3 separate regions of the Homo sapiens genome follow, and regions 1 and 3 are each linked to region 2. Evidence: promoter capture Hi-C in human tissues and cell types (Jung and others, 2019). All regions are on one chromosome and are shown on one strand. The core of a region is centred on a gene start or on the middle of the fragment in contact, and the rest is flanking DNA. Distances in the headings are between cores, read along the strand shown. Region 1 has its middle 210 kb from the start of PRDM2. Region 2 holds the start of PRDM2 (PR/SET domain 2). Region 3 has its middle 240 kb from the start of PRDM2.

Evidence for each region. Contacts are between HindIII fragments. The study calls those that stand out against the background at their distance.
Region 1: a contact is called between a fragment that was not itself captured here and the fragment with the promoter of PRDM2 in region 2, in 2 of the 25 tissues and cell types used here (liver and mesenchymal stem cells).
Region 3: a contact is called between a fragment that was not itself captured here and the fragment with the promoter of PRDM2 in region 2, in 2 of the 25 tissues and cell types used here (dorsolateral prefrontal cortex and mesenchymal stem cells).

Annotation. Positions count from the first base shown.
Region 1 is chr1:13,909,352-13,912,104 of GRCh38, reverse strand. It overlaps a transcript of KAZN not described here. Among named protein-coding and RNA genes, the nearest start is that of PRDM2, 210 kb to the right of the region's middle. The HindIII fragment of the contact is 3,343 bases long and covers 1-2,753 here.
Region 2 is chr1:13,698,856-13,701,658 of GRCh38, reverse strand. It overlaps PRDM2 (PR/SET domain 2), which reads right to left and starts at 1,471. Exons shown (of 10, transcript NM_001393986.1): 1 at 1,359-1,471. RefSeq lists a silencer at 949-1,718. The HindIII fragment of the contact is 18,174 bases long and covers 1-2,803 here.
Region 3 is chr1:13,935,097-13,938,184 of GRCh38, reverse strand. It overlaps a transcript of KAZN not described here. Among named protein-coding and RNA genes, the nearest start is that of PRDM2, 240 kb to the right of the region's middle. The HindIII fragment of the contact is 7,537 bases long and covers 1-3,088 here.

The DNA of each region.
Region 1 (2,753 bases), core at 167-2,666, 210 kb before region 2:
ACATGGTCCTCTAGCATTTTCCATGCATTTTAATATAACCTTCATAGTGCCTACATTAGAGGCTTGCCATCTCCACTTCACATAAAAAGCCGTGGTTCAGAGAGATTTAAAACAATAGTAATGGGGAAAAAGAAACTTGTCCAAAATAACACATCAATAAATAGCCAAGCACAGCCAGAATGCAAATCTGACACCAAACCCACATCCTTCACTTCTTAGAACCACCTAGAAGGGACTTCTGGGGGCCCAAACCCAACCCCAACTTCCAGCAGATAACTGTCCTTATCAATCACAACTTCCCTTTCTGCCAAGCTGCATCATGCCTTATAACATTTTTTATTTAAGGACTAAGGATTTAATACATTAAATGATATTATACAGCAAACTCAAAATGCTTCTGTCTGGCCTCCCAGGTGATGTATGTTGTGAGGCAGGTTTCAAAATGAAAATTTTCAAAGTGGGACAATTTATATAGACCTCAAAGGACGTGATGTCTTCCTTCAGCATCAGAAAACAGGAGAATCTCATTTCTTCTGACTCAACCATGATGGATTATAATAGTTTCTCCTGATATCGTTTGGATACTTGTCCTCACCCAAATCTCATGCTGAATTGTGATTCCCCAGTGCTGAAGGTGGGGCCTGGTAAGAGGTGTTTGGGTCATGGGGACAAATTCCTCATGGCTTGGTGCTGACTTCAGGATCCCGAAAGTGAGTGGGTTCTCCAAGATCTGGTTGTTTATAAGTGTGTGGCACCAGCCAGGCACAGTGACTCATGACTGTAATCCCAGCACTTTGGGAGGCCGAGGCAGGTGAATTACCTGAGGTCAGGAAATCGAGACCAGCCTGGCCAACATGGTGAAACACCGTCTCTACCATAAATACAAAAATGAGACAGGCGTGGTGGTGAGCACCTGTAACTCCAGTTGCTTGGGAGGCTGAGGCAGAAGAATTGCTTGAACCCGGGAGGTGGAGGTTGCAGTGAGCTGAGATGGCACCATTGCACTCCAGCCTGGGTGACAGAGCGAGACTCCATCTCAAAAACAAAATGAAACAAAACAAAAGTGTGTGCCATTTCCTCCATCTCTCTCTTGTTCCTGTCTTCCCCATGTCATGCACCTCCTTCCCCTTTGTCTTCCATCATGATTGGAAGCTTTCTGGGACTTCCCAGAAACAGAAGACGCCATGCTTCCTGTACAGCCTACAGAATTGTGAGCCAATAAAACCCCTTTTCTTTATAAATTACCCAGTCTCAGGTATTTCTTTATAGCAGTGCAAGAACAGCCGAACACACCTACATATCTCTTCTTATTATGGGAAAGCACCTGGAAATTGGGTGGGAGTTAGGCCCTATATTAGTCTGTTCTCACATTACTATAAAAAAGAAAAAACCTGGGAATGGGTAATTTATAAAGAAAAGGAGTTTAATTGGCTACGGTTCTGTAGGCTGTACAGGAAGCATGATGCTAGCATCCGCTCTGCTTCTGGGGAAGCCTCAGGAAACTTGCAATTGGGGCAGAAGGCAAATGGGGAGCCAGGAACTTTATATGGTGAAGCAGGAGCAAGGTGGGGGAGGTGTCACACACACTTTTTTTTTTTTAGACAGAGTCTCACTCTGTTGCCAGGCTGGAGTGCGGTGGTATGATCTCAGCTCACTGCAACCTCCGACTCCCTGGTTCAGACGATTCTCCTGCCTCAACCTCCTGGGTAGCTGGGATTACAGGCATGCACCACCACACCCAGCTAATTTTTTGTATTTTTAGTAGAGATGAGGTTTCACCATGTTGGCCAGGATGGTCTCGATCTCCTGACCTCGTGATCCACTCACCTCAGCCTCCCAAAGTGCTGGGATTACAGGCGTCAGCCACCACACCCAGCCTGTGTCACATACTTTTAAACAATCAGATCTCATGAGAACTCACTATCGCCGCAGCAGCATCAAGGAGGATAGTGTTAAACCATAAGAACTTGCCTTTATGATCCAATCACCTCCCCCCAGGCCACACTTCCAACATTGCGGGTTACCATTCAACATGAGATTTGGATGGGGACACAGATCTAAACCATACCAGACCCCACTGAAAGTATCCAGTCCAAATGCCAGCTATTGGGAGTGGCATCTGGGCCCTTCCTAATCAGCCTTCTCCACTCAGGAGTGAGATTGACCACCATCATCTGGGTTTAAACGAGGCCTCCATGAGCCTCAACATTTGAAGCGGATTCCCTGAAGCCAGCCAAGAAGAGGGGCTAGAGCTGCCTCTGGTCTCCCTTCTACATTTCCACCGCTACAGATTACCCACCTTATTCTCAGGGTTCAACTCAGACCAAATCTTTCCATAAGGCTAGCAGAAGGAGGACTCTGCCCTCATAAATGCTTAATTCGTCTTGCTACATTTTTAAACCAGGCCTTCATCATAAGAAGCAGCCAAGAAAGAAAGGTCTTATTTTATTTTATCCTAAATAAGACCAAGCTTATTAATAAATAAGCCCAAATCAATATTCAGTATTGATTTGCAATTCTCTGAAGAAAATGTGGGTGTAGGAACAGGTGGGTGGCAAAGCAGGGTGCAAGAAGACCATTTTGTGGGGGAAACCCTGGCTGAGATAGAACATATCCAGGCAGATTCCCCCTTATTCACAACCTCCCCCACCTTCCAATGCTAGACGGGAGCTCTCCTCCTCACTACCTAAGAGAGAGAAATCAATACCTCCCTCCTCACCCTCTTGCCCCTGAAAAAACACAGCCTTTCGTAG
Region 2 (2,803 bases), core at 222-2,721:
TAAAGGTCATCTCAAGGCTAAACTAAGATTCTACATGTAAAAATTTGGCCAATAAGTGTTAGTCCGGAAGCCTCAAGAGTGATGGGGCAGTTTGGACCATCTCAAAAACACAGAACCCTACTAAAAAAGAACGTATGACAGTGTGTCTCAGTTCCTCCTCCTTAATATATGTAAATTTCCTATCATGTTTTTTTTTAAAAGGCCTACATTTTTCTAATACTTGGACACAACTGATCAAACCGAGGCGAAGTGTGTACCATTGTAAAAGAAATCATTGAAGAGTTCCATTTGTTGTTAAAAGTTTCGGTCACTTTTAATAAACCTGGAGTAAACAAAAACTTAAACATTTTAGTCGAGTTCTGGGGTAAAAATGATTCTTCTAGTGTCTGGTTAAAGGGATCTAAGGACCTACTGGGATTCAGCAAAAGACGTTCCACGTCTCAAATACACCCAAAATCTCAATACAACACTAAAAGAAAAGTGAGGGGCCAGCACGAAATTTCTGTTAGGGGAAATTTCAGCTGCGTAGTTAAGGAAATCAGGACTTCCCGGTTAACTATGGGGTCTTTGCCGCAGCTCACAGCCCGACACAAAGCTACAAGCCCGGAGGGTCGGTGGCTCACGCGTGGATCGAAAGAACCACGAAGGTTTGGGGAATGACACTGACCTGTTAGGTTTACTTCATGTCTCACTTACCACCATCAAAAGAGGTTCATTGATAGCTTTATTAGCAAAATTAGTAACAGAGTTGCACGTCTGTAACACACACACACGCGCGCGTGCGCACACACACACATACACCCGTGGGTCTATGGGAACATTGAGGGAGACAATCTCCAGGTTAAAACCACACAAAAACTATTTGGGAAACACAAAGACGCAAGACACAAAACAAATTTGGAGTGCAAATGTGCAAGACACACTCAGTGGGAACACAAAAGAGAAAAGCACAGCGGCTTGACAATTGGGACGGCGCCCGGCCCCACGTGGGGCCCCAGGTGGCCCCACCGCCGCCCGCACCCGGCCAGTCTCTGCAGCCCGCACGCGTCCCCCGCGGGGCGCGCGGCTCTTCACGGCGACAAACCGAATCCCGAACTTCGCCGCAGGGACCCCACGGCCGACAAGGAGGAGCCCGGCGCCGCCACCCACCCGCGGGGCCACCGACCCGGAGGCCCGCGCCTCGTCCCGGGGCCCCCGGCACGCCCGGGACCTCTGAGGGGGCGCGTCCGCCGACCCGGCCATCCCTGCGGCGCCGGGTCCCCAGCGTGTCGCCGCCGCCGTCGCCGCCGCGCTCCTCGGGGGGAGGGACCAGCGTCCCGGCGCGAGCCCAGAGGCCGCCCACCCGCGCCACTCCTTACCCGCGCCCGCCGCGCCAGCGCCTCAGAGCACCGAGGGCCGCCGCCGCCGCCGCTGTTTCGCCGGCCCCGGCGCCCGCGGCCGCGCCGCCGCCATCTTGACTCCAGTCGGAAGTGACGTCGGGCGGCGAGGCAGTGGCCTGCGGGGCTGGGGGGCTCCGGGACCCCCGGTCTCCCCACGATCCCAGAGCCCGGCCCTTGACCCTGCGCCGTCGCCCAATGGCCACCACCCAGCCGCCCCTCGTAGGTCACCGCGGATCCCATGGCGGCGCCTCGGGAAGGAACCCCGGCGGCTGGCGTCGCGGCAAGTCCGACCGCACCCTAGGGCTAGGATCCTGCGTGGTTCAAAGATTCTCAAAGAATCAAAAAGACTGAAGGAGGTGTTGGGGGGGCATGTCTATCGTTGGAGGTCATTAAATATCTGACAAGTACATAAACGTAGACCTTATACTTCTACGTTTGGATCTATACCAAAAAGATCCAACTCCAGGCAGACAGACGCAGCTGCTGGGTTTATTTGCTGCCCTAGTACCCAGGAGCAGTGACCAACGCTGCCCTGTGCCCGCGATGTTCCAGTGCAGCGCCTCTGAGAGCGCGGTAGTAGTCCTGCCCTTAAGGAGCTTGCTGTTCCCAAGCGGGCAAACAAATGGACTGCAGAGACGACGACTCATAGATGTTCTGATGAAGATGAACTGGGTGGAACTGGAGATGGCTCTTCGACATCCAAGGGTGGAGGCCTAGCACGTGGTTGAAAATGAGTTGAGTCGGGGAGAAGCACAGGCTGGAGATGAGCTGGAAAGTTGGGAGTTGTCGTTATAGATGGTGCCTGGAGCCTTCAGCACTTCAAGATAAAGTAATCCTCTGAGAATGAAGTCAGGAAGAATCCGAATGTGATGGCTACGTTGGCCATCTGCAGAAAGCACCCAGTGGAAAAACAGGATACTAAGGGCAGGTGTGCTTCCAAAAATTATGAACGATCATTTATGTAACAGGTTTAATCTTAAGAAAACGTGTTGGCCGGGCGCAGTGGCTCACGCCTGTAATCCCAGCACTTTGGGAGGCCAAGGCAGGTGGATCACGAGGTCAGGAGATCGAGACCATCCTGGCTAACACGGTGAAACCCCGTCTCTACTAAAACTACAAAAATTTAGCCGGCCGACGTGGCGGGTGCCTGTAGTCCCAGCTACTCCGGAGGCTGAGGCAGGAGAATGGCGTGAACCCAGGAGACGGAGCTTGCAGTGAGCCAAGATCGCCCCACTGCTCGCCAGCCTGGGCGACAGAGACAGACTCCATCTCAAAAAAGAAAGAAAACGTGTTGTATCAACATATATCATGTTATCTTATTGTAAAAGAATGAGGCTAGGCCGGGCGCGGTGGCTCAGCCTGTAATCCCAGCACATTGGGAGGCCGAGGCGGGTGGATCACGAGGTCAGGAGATCGAGACCATC
Region 3 (3,088 bases), core at 187-2,686, 240 kb before region 2:
AAACCAGAAAAAAACTTCCATGCTCATGGATTGGAAGAATCAATATTTTTAAAATGACCATACTGCCCAAAGCAATCTACAGATTCAATGCGATTTCTATTAAATTATCAACATCATTTTTCATATTTCAATTAGAAAAAACAATCCTGAAATTCACATGGAACCAAAAAAGAGTCTGAATAGCCAAAATACTCCTAAGCAAAAATAACAAAACTGGAGACATCACATTATCTAACTTCAAATTATACTATAATGATACTACAAGTTTATAACAGCATGGTACTGGCATAAAAATAGAAACATAGGTCAATTGAACAGAATAGAGAACCCAGAAATACAGCCACATACCTACAACCAGCTGATCTTTAACAAAGTCAACAAAAATATACACTGAGGAAAGACACCCTATTCAATAAATGGTGCTAGGAAAATTGGTTAGCCATTTACAAAAGAATAAAACTGGACCCATATCTCTCACTATACACAAAAATTAACTCAAGATGGATTAAAGACTTAAATATAAGACCTGAAACTCTAAAAATCCTTGAAGAAAACCTAGGAAAATCTCTTCTGGACATTGGTATAGGCCAAAGAACTTACGACTAAGTCCTCAAAAGCAAATGCAACGAAAACAAAAATAAACAAATGAGACTTAATTAAACTAAAAGCTTCTGCATAGCAAAAGAAATAATCAACAGAGTAAACAGACAACCTATGCAATGGGAGAAAATATTTGCAAACTATGCATCTGACAAAGTACTAATATCCAGGATCTACAAGGAACTCAAACAACTCATCAAGGAAAACAACAAATAACACCATTAAAAAGTGGGCAAAGGATGGCTGGGCATGGTGGCTCATGCCTGTGATCCCAGCACTTTGGGTGGCCAAGGCAGGCGGATCACGAGGTCGGGAGTTCAAGACCAGCCTGACTAACATGGTGACCCCATCTCTACTAAAAATACAAAAAATTAGCCGGGTGTGGTGGCATGTGCCTGTAATTCCAGCTACTCAGGAGGCTGAGGCAGGAGAATCACTTGAACCCAGGAGGCAGAGGTAATGGTGAGCTGAGATTGCACCACTGCACTCCAGCCTGGGCAACAGAGTGAGACTCCATTTCAAAAAAAAAAAAACAAAAGAAAAAAAAAGTGGGGAAAAAACATGAATGGACATTTTTCAAAAGAAGATATACAAGTGGCCAAAAAACATACATAAAAATGCTCAACATCACTAATCATCAGAGAAATGCAAATTAAAATCACAATGAGATACCATCTTGCACAGTTGTAATGGCTTGATTCAGCAATCCCACTACTGGCTATCTACCCAAAGGAAAAGAAATTGCTTTATAAAAAGACACCTGCACTAGTACGTTCATCACAGCCCTATTCACAATAGCAAAGTCATGAAATCGACATAACCTAAGTCTGTACACATATACATACACCATGGAATACTACCCAGCCATTAAAAAGAATGAAATCATATCTTTTGCAGCAACAAGAATAGAGCTGGAGTCCATTATCCTAAGTGAAATAATTCAGAAACAGAAAGTCAAATAGTGCATGTTCTCACTTTTAAGTAGAGCTAAACAATGGGTACACATGGACATAAACAGTGGGAAAACAGACCTTGGAGACTCCAAAAGGTGGAAGAGTGGGAGGGAGGTAAGGGTTGAAAAATTACCTGTTGAGTACAATGTTCATTATTCAAGTGATGGATACATTAAAATCTCAGACTTTACCACTACACAATATATCCATATAGCAAAACTGCACTTGTAGGCCAGGCATGGTGGCTCATGCCAGTAATCCCAGCACTTTGAGAGGCCAAGGCAGGTGAATCACCTGAAGTCAGGAGTTCGAGACCAGCCTGACCAACACGGAGAAACTCTGTCTCTACTAAATATACAAAAAAAAAATTAGCCAGGCATGGTGGTGCATGCCTGTAATCCCAGGTACTCAGGAGGCTGAGGCACGAGAATCGCTTGAACCTGGGAGGCAGAGGTTGTGGTGTGCCGAGATCGCACCATTGCACCCCAGCCTGGGCAACAAGAGCTTGAAACTCTGTCTCAAAAAAAAAAAAAAACTGCACTTGTACCACCTAAATCTATAAAAATAAAAATTTAAAAAGGAAACTAGAATATATAGTATAAATACTAGGATAAGATACACATACCAGATATGTAATGATATATACAAATCATATAATAGTATATATATTCTAGTATATATATTCTAGTTTTCTGATGATGTACATATATTAAATAATTTATCTGATTCTACACACACACACACACACACACACACACACACACACACATTAGGATGTAAAAGTAATTATCCACATTCTAGAAATGGGAAATCTGGGGCTCAGAGGTGTGAAGTGGCTTGCCCAGTCAGTAGTGACTTTGTCAGCTACTAAATTCAAACCAAACTATGAAGTTCATGTTCCATCTACTACCCCACGCTGTAAACTGTAATATTTATAGCGGGGATTGTCTTAATTCAAGATGCAACTACACATGTGTTTGTGGCTTATAGGCCAGTGCTGAAGCTCTCTGCTGGAAATGTAACCTCCCAACCGTGAGCTGCAGATAGGTGGCCAGCTCTCCAACCTCTTCACTCCCACACTTCTAAGCCATAAAATGGCATCCCCAAAGGCCAGGTTCTTGGAAAACAGCCAACGTTCTGTTAAGTAGGATGGTGGCAGCATAGCACAGCAGTCAAGATCACAGGCTCTGTTGCCAGATTGAGTGGGTTTGAATCCCCGTTTCTGCCCTTCCCAGTTGTTTCACCTTACACAAGTCTCTTGCATCACTTTCTGCATCATAAAATGAGAATTAAAACAGTTCAGCTTGTTGGAAAGATTGGATAACAGAATATATGTAAAATGCTTAGTCAGTACTGAAGGCTTATTATTATTATTATTACTACTACTACTATTTGATACGGAGTTTCGCTCTTGCTGCCCAGGCTGGAGTGCAATGGCGCCATCTCGGCTCACTGTAACCTCTGCCTCCTGGGTTCATGCGATTCTCCTGCCTCAGCCTCCCGAGTAGCTGGGATTACAGGCACCTGCCACCACA